Regions from separate parts of the Homo sapiens genome. Here region 2 is linked to region 1. Evidence: promoter capture Hi-C in human tissues and cell types (Jung and others, 2019). All regions are on one chromosome and are shown on one strand. Each heading gives the region's core, a stretch centred on a gene start or on the middle of the fragment in contact. The rest is flanking DNA. Distances are from core to core; before and after follow the strand shown. Region 1 holds the start of ZMYM4 (zinc finger MYM-type containing 4). Region 2 overlaps KIAA0319L (KIAA0319 like).

Evidence for each region. The method cuts DNA at HindIII sites, captures the fragments that hold promoters and counts their contacts. A contact is called where the count stands out against the background at its distance.
Region 2: a contact is called between a fragment that was not itself captured here and the fragment with the promoter of ZMYM4 in region 1, in 1 of the 25 tissues and cell types used here (psoas muscle).

The regions. Positions count from the first base shown.
Region 1 is chr1:35,264,609-35,272,485 of GRCh38, reverse strand. ZMYM4 (zinc finger MYM-type containing 4) reads right to left here and starts at 3,777. Exons shown (of 30, transcript NM_005095.3): 1 at 3,401-3,777. The coding sequence starts at 3,439. RefSeq lists silencers at 3,258-3,387, 3,458-3,817 and enhancers at 3,948-4,007, 4,028-4,087. The HindIII fragment of the contact is 5,206 bases long and covers 1-4,530 here.
Region 2 is chr1:35,476,068-35,483,944 of GRCh38, reverse strand. It overlaps KIAA0319L (KIAA0319 like), which reads left to right. Exons shown (of 21, transcript NM_024874.5): 4 at 4,733-4,979. Among named protein-coding and RNA genes, the nearest start is that of KIAA0319L, 77 kb to the left of the region's middle. The HindIII fragment of the contact is 4,433 bases long and covers 430-4,862 here.

The DNA of each region.
Region 1 (7,877 bases), core at 2,528-5,027:
GTAGAGGTCACAAGATGTCCAGACGCAAAAAGCAATGAAATAGATACTATGTTAAAGGAGTTCACAATTTATCAAGAGAGCCAGCATATATTATCCTAAATGACCCTAAGTAACAAAGCACAATGCCTAGCATGTAGCTTATGAAATAGCACAGGTGCTTAGCAACTTTTTTGTGACATGATTACAAAGGTCAAAAGCAGTAAGCATCATTAAGTACAATACCATGTCATCAATGCAATTTCAGATTGAATAGCCTAAAGTTACTATCTAAGTCTATGTGGATAGTTTGTTTCAACTCCCTCAAGGCAGTCAATTTCCAAAGACATGGTACTGCATAGTCCCCATTAATCGGCTTGGAGTATACATATGGAATCCACATGTAATTTGGCACACACCAAAAAAAAGTGGAAAAAAGTACTTATATCATTTAAGACAATCATACCGAACATTCTAATGAAATATCAAAAACAAAATGAATTATGGATCAAAAAATATTATTTATGTATTATTTTTACTTTTTCTAGAGAGGGGGTTTCCCTCTGTCACCCAGGCTGGAGAGCAGTGGCAATATCATAGCTCACTGCAACCTCCAACTCCTGGGCTCAAGCAATGCTCCCACCTCAACCTCTGAATAGCGAGGACTAGAAGCATGTGCCACCACACCATTAATTCCAAAAATCAATGAATGTAATTTTCCTCTGTGATGAAACTGGCAAAATAATGGGGGAAACCTATACAAGTCCTGCGTATGTTATAGGTTGTTAAAAATAAAATTAACTTTTGGGCCAGGCCCGGTAGCTCACACCTGTAATCCCAGCACTTTGGGAAGCCGAGGTGTGCTGATCACCAGAGGTCAGGAGTTCGAGATCAGCCTGGCCAACATGGCAAAATCCCATCTTTACTAAAAATACAAAAATTAGCCAGGCATGGTGGTGCTTGCCTGTAATCCCAGCTACTTGGGAGGCTGAAGCAGGAGAATTAATTGAACCCGGGAGGCGGAGGTTGCAACGAGCCGAGATTGCGCCACCGCACTCTAGCCTGGGCAACAGAGCAAGACTCTGTCTCAAAAATAATAATAATAATAAAGTTTTTACTGCTACCAGTATGGTATCTTTTTTTTTTTTTCCAGCATTCCTTTAGCAGAAGATTCACAAGACCAGTAACATCTTTTAAGTGTACGACAAGAGGCAGAATATATTTAAAATCTAGTTGAATTTGTTGTCAACACACATCAATGTTTTCTAGAATATCCTAGAACATCCTAGTACAGAAGGTGAATGACAACATTCACAGCAACTGGATGCAGAAATCTCCCTGAATTAACATTACATATCTTAAGTAATTTACCCTGTATATTTTCATTGGTGGACTATATGCCATATGCCTTCATCCAAGCACAGTAAGGATCTAGTTCAAAACTGAACACAACTTGAAAATTTTAAAATTTCAAAACACATGCATTCCATACACAACATTTATACTTACAAAACTATTTGGACATACCATCATACAGCTTAACTTGCTCTATGACTAATTATTGCATTAGGTGAATCCAACATTTCGTAAACTTATCAATGGTAAAAATTTATTGTTCAAAACACTACGATGAAATGCATTAAAATAACACGACTGATGAACAGAAAGAGGGATAGAGGGGTAAATATATGATAAAACAAGTGGAATGCAATTTTTTTTTTGGAGGGGGTTTTGAGACAGTGCCTCCCTCTGTCACCTAGGCTAGAGTGCAGTAGCACGATCTCGGCTCACTGCTACCACCGCCTCCCTGCTACCACCGCCTCCCAGGTTCAAGCGATTCCCCTGCCTCAGCCTCCCGAATAGCTGGGATTACAGGCACCCGCCACCACGCCGGGTTAATTTTTTGTATTTTTAGTAGAGACGGGGTTTCACCATGTTGGCCAGGCTGGTCTCGAACTCCTGGCCTCAAGTGATCCTGCCGCCTCGGCCTCCCAAAGTGCTGGGATTACAGGCGTGAGCCGCTGTGCATGTCCGGAATGCAATGTTAACAGTAGGATCTAGGCGGTTGGGTGTATGACTGCTCCCCGTAAGTTTTATAATATTGACGGATAGTTCAAAATATTTTCCTAATAAATTGTTGGAAAAAATAATACTTGACACTTCTTTGGTCATTTACAATTTAAGCTTTTAAGGAGAGAAACACAGATTAAAGAAACTCCTCTGTGGCATCCCACACAGGCACTATAGTTGGGACAAACCTGGATTCAAATCCTACCTCAACCTTGCAACTAGCTGTGTGATCTAAGTAAATTACTTAAGCCCTCAACACCTAAATTTCCTCATCTGCAAATAGGTTCTAGGAGGAGTTACTATGAAGTTAAATTCTTCACATAAAGGTCTTAGCTCAGTGCCAGGCACACAGTAAGCACTCAAAACATCAGCTGTAGCATCATTACGAGATTACTAATTTTACGCTAAGCTGAAAGGGCATTCTTCATAAAGTAGTAATTTTTTGCCCTTTTGCTAATTGATCGTTTCTGAAACCATTCCCAAAAGGAAGACTCCTAAAAGGAAACTTACTTCTTATCATGCTAAGCGGGGAGGAAGTAAAAGAAAAGTGAGGGATATTGCTCAATCGATAGTACAGTATTGTTCGCCATCTGAAAAAAACCACTCAGAATTAAATAAGGAAAGTTTCCAGACAAACTTTAAAAGGTATTCAAACAACTCCTATGTAGAATTGGCTTCACCTCTGCAGGTTGATTGGGTACATCCCTGTTATGAGAAAACTTGTCGTATTCTTCCAAGTCCCTAATTGCGAGTAAGAGGCTAGGCTAGAACATGACATTCATAGTAGCCAAAATCTTTCTCCTAAATCAGGACATGCCAACGATCCCACTTCTTCACAGGTAAGACCACCACCCCGACTTTGGTCTAGATAACGGCTATGGGGGGAGGGGAAAGGAGGCAGGAAAATGAATTCGCGATGGTGTTACTGAAGAACCCTCCGGTTATTTCTCCTGAGACCCCTCCACGACTTATTCCCGCCACCACCACCCCCACCTGACCTCTCCCCAGTTAACTTCCAGACTCTGATGTACTAAAGATGCACTAAAGATGCACTTAAGAATCTGACACCTCCCCTCCCTGGGCCTAGATATCCCACCCCAGTGCTGGGGAACGTCGGGGGGAGGAAGGCAAACAACGGCCCCCTCCCCTCCCCCCCACCCAGCACCAAATCTTTGTCCCACCTGCCGAGGGACCGCTCGCCAGCGCGCTCCGGACCCAAGGCTGCCTCAGACCTGCCCGCAACCTTGTCCTAACTGGGCCTCGGCGACCCCTCCACGAACCTGAGTATGGCCCATTCCCGGCCCCGGGCCGCGCCCCGCCCCCCGCCGCCCGAGTTCTGCCTCACCTCACCTACCCTCTTTCGGGGGCCGGACTCCACCTCTCTCTCCGCCATGTTGGGCCCCGCTCGGAACCGCTGCGGCTCCCCGCGCGGTGGCGGCGGTACCTCTCGGCCCCCCGGCCCCCGCCCACACTGCAGGCACGGCCGCCTCGCGGCAGCTTCCCCGGACCCGGCCGGGCCTTGCGCCGAGAGTGGGGAGGGGGCGGATGCCGCGCGCCGGGCCGCAGCTTCTGAGATCCCACGGGTCCGCGCGTGGGCGGGAGGGCCTGCCCGGGGACGGGGTGGGGGCCGGGACTCGGGGGGTTAATGGCCTCCAAGGGGCCCCGTGAGTAGGATTATTTTCTCTCAGAGAAATTCCTCCGCCTGCGGTTTCTTAAAGGGATCACCAAATCAGCCCCTTGCGCGCGCCCCTGATGCGCAGGCGCACCCTAAGTCCCTCCTTCCTTTCCCACCAAGCCCCCGGTCCTGAGCGTGCGCGGTAAGTGGCCATGGGTAGGCCAAATCCTGCAAGTCTCTTTGCTGCCAGCAGCTGCTCCCACCACTCAACTATGGCCGCTCCCTTAAAGGGACCATGACGCAGGGATGAAGGAGAAATGAAAGAAATTACTGGAAAGACAATCTGGAGAATTGGGTGCAATGTCAGTGAAGGGTTCCACATCACCATCTTACACCTGACTACAGTGGTACCATTGAAGAGGGAAAGTCATGGTAAGCTGAAGTTCTCAGTGGACCTCTGAACATGAAGAATCCCAAACCAATGAGGGAACAAGACAGTCATCTCAAGGAAAACCAACTTTCCTCCCTTTCGACTGCCTGTTCTGAAGCACAAGGCATAGAATATCAAGAGCCAACTCCTATAACCTCACCTTAAAATCAAAGCTTTTGGTGATTTTGAAGATTGAACCAACAACTGGAAATAATTTCTTCAATAGTAATTTATCCTTAGAACATCAAAATGGAGAAGGATCTTAGGGAACCATTTACTCCAGTGCTCCCAATGATAAAATTGCAGCCTGATCATGGGAAGGAATTTGTCCCAATGTAACTAATGGCTGGTGTGGAGTTGGAATCAAGATTACAGTCTCAGTCCTCCAGGCTGTCTTCAGGCGAGAGATAAATTTGGTTTAATTTGATATCCCTAGAAGATTAAAAATTGAAGTTTCATGGTATTTGGAGAATATCATAATTCTCTTGTGAAGATGTAATGATTTGCAGATGATGGGTGTCCTCATTCACCTCTATTGAAGGAGCTTGACAATCTGCCTTAAAGGATAAGCATCTTATTTCTAAGCAGGAAACCAGGAAGTAGATTTGGGTCTATCTTGTTCCAAAACTGGGTCCTAAGCTGAAAATCGCTGAAAAGAATGAGGGCTTCATTCATTCCTCTTCTGTTCATTCTAGTTCCCACAAGCTTTGGGTGCAGAAAAAATTAAGTTTATAATGATAGTTCAGGGACAGTGGGGAGACATATAGTAAGAAATACAAAGAAGATGCCTCCTGAAGGTCATTTCCCATGACAAGACATATTCAAGTGGGAATGATAACTCCTGAAGTCACAGGATAATGAGATGTAACTTCTGTTTTCTGTTTTATTTAGCACTTGGTAGCTATTCTGAAACAGATGTTTTCTAATCTGTAATATTTTGCTGAAAACTTTTGGTGAAATTGCTGGAAGTTTCCATACTGGCCTTGCTTATGCCTTTAGCACTGTCTTTAATTTCACTCCTCGGTAGGAGAGAAGAAAGAAGGACAAAGAAATATGTTCATTTCAGCCAGAATTTTAAAAACATGTTCCCTTTAGTTCCATGTCCAGGACAAGAAAGAAAAGAGGAGCCAAGAAAAGATAATTCCAGGGAATGTGGCTACATAAAACTTGTAGTGGTTTCCACCTGTTTTATTGGCAGTGGAATACTCCCTTCTAATAAAATCTGGTGGTTTAAAATGTGGAGCTGCTAAGTTGGGAGTGTAAGTGGGGAACCCACTAGTCTATTCACCCAGCTTCACCCTTGCACTCTCTCTCCTTTCATGCCCCCTCCCATCATTACAGAAATGTTGAGTTTCTCAGATCACAGTTTAAACTTATTAGTTTAGTCTAACTCCACATTTTCAAGATGAAGCCTCTGAGGCTTAGAGAAGATATGATTTGCTTGAGATCACACACAGGATTAGTAACAGTATCAAGACTGAAACAGACATCTTGATCCTCAGGGCTCTGTCCTACACAGACTGTTTCTGGAGGTATTAGCAATGTGTTAGGTCTCGAATAATAGGTGGGATTTGTGCATTTCAGATAATATACAAGCATAACATGAATGTTCAGGGCAGTCATCCATATGGAGGAATAAGACAAGAGAAAACCATTTAGTGAGCACTGAAAAGTTAATCATAATTTTATAGAAGGATTCACAGAGCTTAAGTGACTAGTCCAAGATCATTCAGCACAGAGGCCAAGTCAGAATTCAAAGCCTTGTTCTTTCTGACTTATTTGAAATATCGTAAAGTAGACATTGTAAATTGGTGGCCTTGTGACCAAATCTGTCCCACAGAAATGCATTTGATTTGTATTGTGTATAGCTATATGATCTTGGTCAAGGTAATTGTCCTGTGCCTCACTTTCCTTATCTGTAAAATGGGACACCAAGAGGATTAAATTAGTTAACATCTCTAAATCTCCTAGAACACTGTTGGTTCCTAATACCATATGAGTATCATTATTATTATTATTATTATTTTTTGAGACAGAGTCTCACTCTGTCATCGAGCTAGAGTGCAGTGGCGCGATCTGGGCTCACTGCAAGCTCCGCCTCCCGGGTTCACACCATTCTTCTGCCTCAGCCTCCCGAGTAGCTGGAACTACAGGCACCCGCCACCATGCCCGGCTAACTTTTTGTATTTTTAGTACAGACTGGGTTTCACTGTGTTAGCCAGGAGGGTCTTGATCCCCTGACCTTGTGATCCGCCTGCCTCGGCCTCCCAAAGTGCTGGGATTACAGGCGTGAGCCACCGCGCCCGGCCATTATCTTTTTTTTAAAAAAAAAAAGTTAAATCATATATCAACATTTTAAATGGGATATTTCACCTACAAGTTCAGTGCTCTGACTTGTTTCAAAAAAAAAAAAAAAAAAAAACTAGACTATAATGGGGCTAGTATCTTGCAAATATCAAACAGATTTCTTTTAACTTTCTTAAGTCATCTTCTGTCATAGACTCTTGCTTGAAATGTAGCCTTGAGACTTATTTTCCCAATCAGGAGAGAACAGAATGGAGAGAAAAAGAATTTGCTAAATTTTCTTAGTTCCATTTAATCTATGAAGCTCAGCACATAATAATTTCATAGAGTTTTTACATACTCCACAGGAAATGCCTTCCACCCAAATATCCTTCCATCCAGGACAGCTAAGCCATGAGGCTGCATATAGGGAAATAAAAGAAAAGTCTGACTCTTTTAATAAAAGGGTAGAGAGAAGAAGAACAAAGAGAAAAGTAAGAGAGGCATCATTGAGAGACATGTGCTCCTGTCTTCCCATTCCAGCTCTTCAAGGCAGAGAGGATTCTTACTCTGCTCCTGTTTAAGATTCCAAGTAGAGATGACTTGCAGACTATGCCCATACCAACAAGCAGACAGCCACATATGAGCAAAAGTCATGCCCTGATGTAGTTGGGAAAAAAGAGCAGGTCTGCATTTAGCTCCTCAGAGTGTCTCTCAGCCAGAGATGAATCCAGGTTTTACAGATCTTGAAGCTTACATGATGGGGGGAGAGGGAGGGTTTTTTTGTTTGTTTGTTTTGTTTTGTTTTTAAGAAAAAGAACACAGAATTACATACACAAAATTAGGTACAGGGTTTTGGGCGGAGCTCTGCAAGTGAGTGGTCCTTAGCTCCTGCGAGAGAAGATATCCAGAAGTTCCCACATACCCTGTAGAAGAATACGGAAAGTAGCCAAGAATGCTGGCTGGCAAGTATAGGAGGAAGTAGCTCTGTAAATTACACTGGGCCAGGAACAAAAAGTAGTAACAGCCAGACCTCAGGAAGAGCTGTGTGGTTTGCCTTCAGGCTCTGAGCAAACTTAGCGAGGCCAGGCTACAAAACATTCCACTCTCTTAACAACAGGCTGTAGAGCATCCTGAGAGGTCAGGGACTCCGAATAGATTCAAGGTCTCAGGCTTCCCCAAAGTCATAATGCCTCATAAATGCAGACGTTATTTTAGATACTCACTCAGAGGGAGAGGGCAGCCACAGGAAAGATACAGTGTTTCTTTCCAAAAGAAATTATTAACTAACAGAATTCTAACCATTAGATTCAAATATGTTTTAAACTACATTGGACATTTAGGTAGATCCATTCAGAAAATGTTAGGAAGAAAGTAAAACAAGTGGGATAAAAAATAACTGTAGTGGGGCTACTTTAGATATGTTAGTCAGTGAATATTTTCCGAGGAGGTGACTTTGTTTTTCTTTTTCTTTTCTTTTGGAGGCAGGGTTTTGGCTGGGCA
Region 2 (7,877 bases), core at 1,397-3,896, 210 kb before region 1:
GTAGAGTTAGGTTGCCGCAAGCCAAGGAATGCTAAGAGCCTCCAGGAGCTAGAAGAGGCAAAGAAAGATTCTCCTCTAGGGCCTTCAGAGGCAGTATGGCCCTGCCAACACCTTGATTTCAGACTTCTGGCCTCCAGAACTGTGAGAGAATGAATTTCTATTGTTTTAAGCCACAAAGTTTATAGTAATTCATTATGGCAGCTCTAGGAAACAAATATAACCATGTTATACAGATTGGGATCTAGAATGATCAAAATGATTTTGAAAAAGAACAATAGAGTTGGAGGACTTAAACTATCTAGCTAGAAGACTTACTGTATAGCCACAGTAATCAAGGCAGTGGTATTGGTATAAAACTAGATTAAGTTAATGGAACATAATATAGAGTCCAGAAATAGACCCACACCTATATGGTCCATTGATGTGCCAGTGCAGTTCAGTGGGGAAGGGATAATCTTTTCAACAAATGGTGCTAGAACAATTAGATAATGATATGTAAAAACATGAACCTTGACCCTTACCTCTAGAGGAAAATCAACTCAAAACGGATCATAGATCTCAATTTAAGAGTAAAAGCTATAAAACTTATGGAAGAGAACCCAGGAGAACATTTTTGTGATCTTGCTTTGGCAAAGATTTCTTAGCCATGTCACTGAAAGCATGAACTGTAAAAGAAACAAATGATAAATTGGAGCTTATCAAAATTACAAATTTTTGTTAATGAAAAGCTAACACTAACAAAACGAAAAAGGAAGATACAGACTGAGAAAACATTTGCAAATTATATGTCTGACAAAGGACTCATTTATAGAAATAAATGAGCTCTTGTAACTTGATTAGAAAACTAGTAACCCATTTTAAAAAGCAGGCAAAAGATTGGAACAGATAGTCCACCAAAGAGGTTATACAGGTGTCCGATAAATACATAAAAAGATGTTCAATGTCGCTAATCACTAGGAAAATGTAAATTACAACCACAGTGAGATACCACTACATACCTCGAATGGCTAAAATTAAAAAGATTTCCACACCAAATTCTGTCAAGATTATATGATAACTGAAATACACTGGTGGTGGTACTATATTATGTCATAACAACTTCAGAAAATGGTTTGGCAGTTTCTTGAAACAGTTAAAGGTACATTGATCGGGGGTTCTATTTATAAGTATTTACCTAAGAGAAATAAAAGGACATGTCCATACAAAGACTTGTAGAGGCTGGGCGCAGTGGCTTACACCTGTAATCCCAGCACTTTGGGAGGCCGAGGTGGGTGGATCGCTTGAGGTCTGGAGTTCAAGACCAGCCTGACCAACATGGAGAAACCCAGTCTCTACTAAAAATACAAAACTAGCTGGGCGTGGTGGCACATGCCTGTAATCCCAGCTACTCGGGAGGCTGAGGCAGGAGAATCGCTTGAACCTGGGAGGCGGAGGTTGTGGTGAACCGAGATTGCGCCATTGCACTCCAGCCTGGGCAACAAGAGCGAAACTCCATCTCAAAAAAAAAAAAAAAAGACCTGTAGATGAGTGGTTATAACAGCTTGATTTGTAATAGCCAAAAGCTAGAATAAACCCAAACGTTCATCTATAGGTGAATGAATAAACAAATTATAGTATATAATATAAAGCAGAAAACTACTTAGCAATGCTAAGAAATGAATTATTGATACACAAAACATTTTGTTTGTATTTTGTTATTCATACAAAATAATTTTTCTGAGTGAAATAAGCCAGACTGCCCCTCTCAAAAAAAAGGGTACTTACTTTGTGATTCCATTTATAGAACCTTTTAGGAAATGCAAACTATAGAAACAGAAAGCAGGCCGGGCGTGGTGGCTCACGCCTGTAATCCCAGCACTTTGGGAGGCCAAGGCAGGTGGATCACGAGGTCAGGAGATTGAGACCATCCTGGCTAACACGGTGAAACCCCATCACTACTAAAAATACAAAAAATTAGCTGGGCATGGTGGCGGGCGCCTGTAGTCCCAGCTACTCAGGAGGCTGAGGCAGGAGAATGGCATGAACCCGGGAGGTGGAGCTTGCAGTGAGCCGAGATCGCGCCACTGCACTCCAGCCTGGGCGACAGAGCAAGACTCCATCTCAAAAAAAAAAAAAAAAAAAAAAAAAAAAGAAACAGCAGAATGGTTGCTTAGGGTGGGGAGGAGAAGGCATTACAAAGGAGCATGAGGAATCTTTGGAAGTGATGGATATGCATTAGCTTGATTGTACTGGTGGTTTCAAATGTGTATACATACATAAAAATTTATCAAATTGTACATTTTATGTATGTTCAATTTATTGTATGTCAATTATACCTTAATAAAGCTTTAAAAAGGGGGGGTAAAAATTTGGATAAACTTTACCTCTTTGCCTCTTCAAAGAAAAAATGGTCAATAAGCACAGGAAAATATGCTCAATATTATTAGTCATCAGGAAAGTCATCAGTGATATATTACTTTATAACCACTAGAATGACAAAAAATAAAAAGACCAGGAATACCAAGTGTTGGTGAAGTTGTAGAGCAACTGGAACTCTCGTATGTTGCTGGTAGAAATATAAAATGTACAGCCACTTTGGGTAACAGTTCATAGTTTCTTACAAAGTTAAACATATACTTATGTATAACCAGCAATTCTCCTAAGTAACTACCTAAGATAAATTAGAACACGTGTTTACAGAAACATGTATACTTAAACATTCATAGCAGTTTTTATAACTAAGAACGGAAAACAACTTAAAATTCCATCAGTAGATAAATGTAAACCAAATTTTTGTGTATTTCTATAATGGAAAACTACTCAGTAATAAAAAAGAATGTACTACTGATATGCACAATATCATGAATAAATTTCAAAAACGTGTTGAGTGAAAGCCAGAAACAAAAATAGTATGTATATGCTTCCTTTTATATGAAATACAAGAAAACCCAAACTAATCTCACTTTGATAGCAAACAAATCAGTGGTTTCCTGAGCCTAGAGATGGAGACAGGGATTTATTATAAAGGGGCATGAATGAATTTTGGGGGCTGATAGAAATGTTCTCTCTCTTAATTGTGGTTACATGGGTATATATATTTATCAAAACTTTGACCTTATATACTTGAAATGTGTGTAGTTTATGTGAATTATATTTCAACCAATTTGATTTTTTTTTTTTGAGACAAGAGTTTCACTCTGTCGCCCAGGCTGAGGTACAGTGGCATGATATCGGCTCACTGCAGCCTCCGCCTCCTCTCGGGTTCAAGTGATTCTTGTGCCTCAGCCTCCTGAGTAGCTGGGACTACAGGCGTGTACCACCATGCCCAGCTAAATTTTGTATTTTTAGTAGAGATGGGGTTTCACCATGTTGGTCAGGCTGGTCTCAAACTCCTTACCTCAAATGTTCCACCTGTCTTGGCCTCCCAAAGTGCTGGGATTACAGGTGTGAGACACCACACCCGGCCGAATTTGATTTTTAAAAAATCCATACCACCACCCTTGTTTCGCTACTCATTATTTCTCATTTGGATGAAAGCAGTACTCTTCTAAGTGATATTCCTGCTATTGCCTTACTTCTTCAAACCCATACGCTAAGAAATGACTTGTAAGACAGAAACTCGACCTTGTTACTTCCTTGCATACAACCCTTAAATTGCTTACCATTACTTAGTTTCTTAAAATAACATGTAATGCTTTTTTCCATCTGGTCTTTGCCTCTATCTTTCCAGCTCATCTTCTATTACTTTTGCCTCTCACTTTGCTTATGGCTGTCAGTTCCCAATACAGACCATGTTAATTTCATTTTTTGTGCCTACATTCATTCTCTGCCCTCTGCCTTTTGTCTAGTAAACAACTGTTTATCCTCTAAAACTCAGCTTAGGGCTCTTCTCCTTCAGGAAGCCTTTTTCTTTAATAATAATAATAAAAAAATCATTCTTTTCCATACTCTTTCTCCCTCAAAGGGAGATGGATTAAGTAACTTTAGCTTGTGTTTTTTTTTTTTTTTTTTTTTTTTTGGCTCATCATAAACATTGGTATATTTACTTTTTTTTTTTCTTTTTGAGACAAGGTCTCATTCTGTCACCCAAGCTAGAGTACAGTGGCATGATCACAGTTCACTGCGGCCTTGACCTCCCAGGCTCAAGCGATTCTCCCACCTCAGCCTCCCAAGTAGCTGGGACCACAGGCATGGCCACCATGCCCAGCTAATTTTTTATGTTTTGTAGAGACAGGGTCTCGCCATATTGTCAAGGCTGGTCTTGAACTCCTAGGTTCAAGTGGTCTCCTGTCTTGGCCTCCCAAAGTGTTGGGAGTACAGGCGTGAGCCACCATGCTTAGCTGGTATATTTACTATTTTGGCTTATTATGCTTTCAGTGCTCAACGATTAGTTTTATTTATATTTTGGATCCACAAGGGCTATTTTGTAATAGGTGCTCAATAAGTATTTGTAGAAAGATTGAATAGAAATGTTAACAGGGTAAAAGTATACATTGTTTTGCTTTTCCAGCACACTTAGAATGCAGAAAATTACTATTTTGTTTTAAACAAAACATTTTGGCTAGGAAAAAAACTCAAGATTTATCTCAACATTTAACACCACTTTTATTTGGGTGGTGAGATTAGTTTCTTTAATATTTTTGATATTTTTGCATTTTTCAAGAGAACATTTAATAGACTATTGTTTCATGAGACATAACCTGAAAAATTATGTAACTTTTACCTACTCAAATTAGTTTTTTTATTTCTTTAGGTCCACAAGGCGATTACAATTTCCAGTCCCCTAACCACAGACCTGACTGCAGAGCTGTCTGGTGGGCCAAAGAATGTATCAGTGCAACCTGAAATATCAGAGGGTCTTGCTACTACGCCCAGCACTCAACAAGTAAAAAGTTCTGAGAAAACCCAGATTGCTGTCCCCCAGCCAGTGGCTCCCTCCTACAGTTATGCTACCCCTACCCCCCAGGCCTCTTTCCAGAGCACCTCAGCACCATACCCAGGTAAGGACCTTTGCTCTTGGAGATAGAAGGAAAAAGTAGAACATTTGATCAAAGTATTCCCTTTTAGAGGAAAGAAGGAAGGGAGGCATAACTTGAATACTGTGTGTTAGAGAAAAAATAACTCTGTCATTGCCCCTGCAGTCATGGACTGGGGGCTCTAGAGCCTTTCCTCAGCAGGCCTCCAGCTTATGGAAATTTACGAGGCTAATTTTCACAGATCCAGATTCCACTGTGACTTAAAGGCACATGATTCAATTAAGTATAATGTTCAAGTGATCAATCAGAGCCTACTGGGAAGAAAGATTTGGATCAGTGTATTTGCTTACCTTCTGAAAGTCTGGTTGTAGGTCTCTCATTTTTATAGCATCTTTATTTTAATTTTTATTTATTTTTAAAACTTTTAATTTTTGTGGATATATAGTAGTTGTATACATTTATGGCATACATGAGATACTTTGATGCAGACATGCAATGTGTAATAATCACATCATGTAAAATAGAGTATCCATCCCTTCAAGCCTTTATCCTTTGTGTTACAAACAATCCAGTTATATTATTTTAGTTATTTTAAAATGTGCAATTAAAATATTATTGACTATAGTCACCCTGTTGTGCTATCAAATACTAGGTCTTATTTGTTCTTTCTAGCTTTTTTTTTTGTACTCATTAACCATCCCCCCCTCCCTCTTACCCCCACACTACCCTTCGCAGCCTCTGGTAACCATCCATCTATCTAACCATTACTCTCTATCTCCATGAGTTCAGTTGTTTTGATTTTTAGATTCCACAAATAAGTGAGAACAAGCAGTGTTTGTCTGTGCCTGGCTTATTCACCTAACATAATGACCTCCAGTTCCATCCATGTTGTTGGAAATGACAAAATTTCATTCTTTTTTATGGCTGAGTAGTACTCCATTGTATATAAGCACCACATTTTCTTTATTCATTCATCTGTTGATGGACACTTAGGTTGCTTCCAAAGTTTGGCTGTTGTGAACAGTGCTGCAAACATGGGAGTGCAGATACCTCTTCGATACACTGATTTCCTTTCTTTTGGGTATAGACCCAGCAGTGGGATTATTGAGTCACATGGTAACTCTATTTTTATTTTTTTGAGGAACCTCCAAACTGTTCTCCATAGTGGTTGTACTAATTTACATTCCCACCAATAGTGTACGAGGGTTCCCCTTTTCTCCACATCCTCACCAGCATTTGTTATTGCCTGTCTTTTGTATAAAAACCATTTTAACTGGGGTGAGATGATATCTCACTGTAGGTTTTTTTTTTTTTTTTTTTTTTGAGACAGAGTCTCACTCTGTTGCCCAGGCTGGAGTGCAGTGGCGCAATCTCGGCTCACTGCAAGCTGCGCCTCCTGGGTTCATGCCATTCTCCTGCCTCAGCCTCCCGAGTAGCTGGGACTACAGGCGCCCACCACCACGCCCAGCTAATTTTTTGTATTTTTAGTAGAGATGCGGTTTCACCGTGTTAGCCAGGATGGTCTCGATCTCCTGACCTTGTGATCCGTCCGCCTTGGCCTCCCAAAGTGCTGGGATTACAGGCGTGAGCCACCGCGCCCGGCCATCTCATTGTAGTTTTTATTTGCATTTCTCTGATGATCAGTGATGTCGAGAACCTTTTCATATGCCTGTTTGCCATTTGTAGGTCTTCTTTTGAGAAATCCCTGTTCAAATATTTTGCCCATTTTTAAATGGGATTATTAAATTTTTTCCTGTGGAGTTGTTTGAACTCTTTATATATTCTGGTTATTAATCCCTTGTCAAATGGGGAGTTTGCAGATATTTTCTCCCATTCTGTGGGTTGTCTCTTCACTTTGTTGATTGTTTCCTTTGCTGTGCAGTAGCTTTTTAATTTGATGTTATCCCGTTTGTCCATTTTCGCTTTGGTTGCCTGTCCTTGTGGGGTATTACTCAAGAATTTTTTTTTTGCTCAGACCAGTGTCCTGGAGAAGCATCTTTATTTTTAAAGCCATTCATAAGAAGTAGATTTATACATAGTGTATAAATAAATCTGTGCTTCACAGGTGCTGTTCTAAGGTATTAGGAAGAATTGGTTAATCAAGAAACTAAGTTGGTCTTTATCCCCTGAAAAAGTCAAGAGGGTAAAAGCAAAGTCAGTGATAATGAATTTTTGCCAATTTTTAATTTTTCAGGGTGTCCTTTGGTAGTAATAGAACATGAAATTTTAGGGGTTCAATCATGAGGCACCAAAGTAATTTTTGTATCCAGTCAAGATGCCTGTAATTTTTGGTGTAATTGTGAAGGGTTTGGGTTGAACTGTTTTGAATAGCCATTTTTTGGTTCATTATACTTTCTCTGAGTATCATGTTTCTTTCTTTTCTTTTTTTGAAAGTCACTTCAGAGAGTTCTTATTCCATCTCCTGGGGCATCCAAATGCTGAAGCTTCCATTAAGGATGGTTTCATTTCTCCTCAAGTGCAATGTTCCCATGCAGAGGCGGATAAATCTCAAGTTTCATATTTGTCTAGGAAGCCCTTCTCGCCTCCCAGGCTTGAAATATGAGTGGACTAGCCTATTGTTTGCTTTAAGCTCTCCTAGTTTTGAAGTCTCATAGCAAATGAACATTTATTGTCAGAGAAATAAGATTTATATAATCGGTGGCTTTCAGTGGTCTGCAAACATTTTTAGTTGGGGGAGGGGAGTGATGCTACTGACGTCTGGTGAGTATGGGTCAGTGATACTGTTAAACACCTTACAGTGCTCAGGACATTTCCCTCCATGACAAAGAATTACCTGGTCCAAAATATCAGGAGTGCTGAGCTTGAGAAACTCTGACATATGTGAAATAGCTGGTGAATAGTATAAAGACAGTATATAGCTCTTTGCTGACTTGAGTGTTCCAAAAATGCTAGCATACTTCA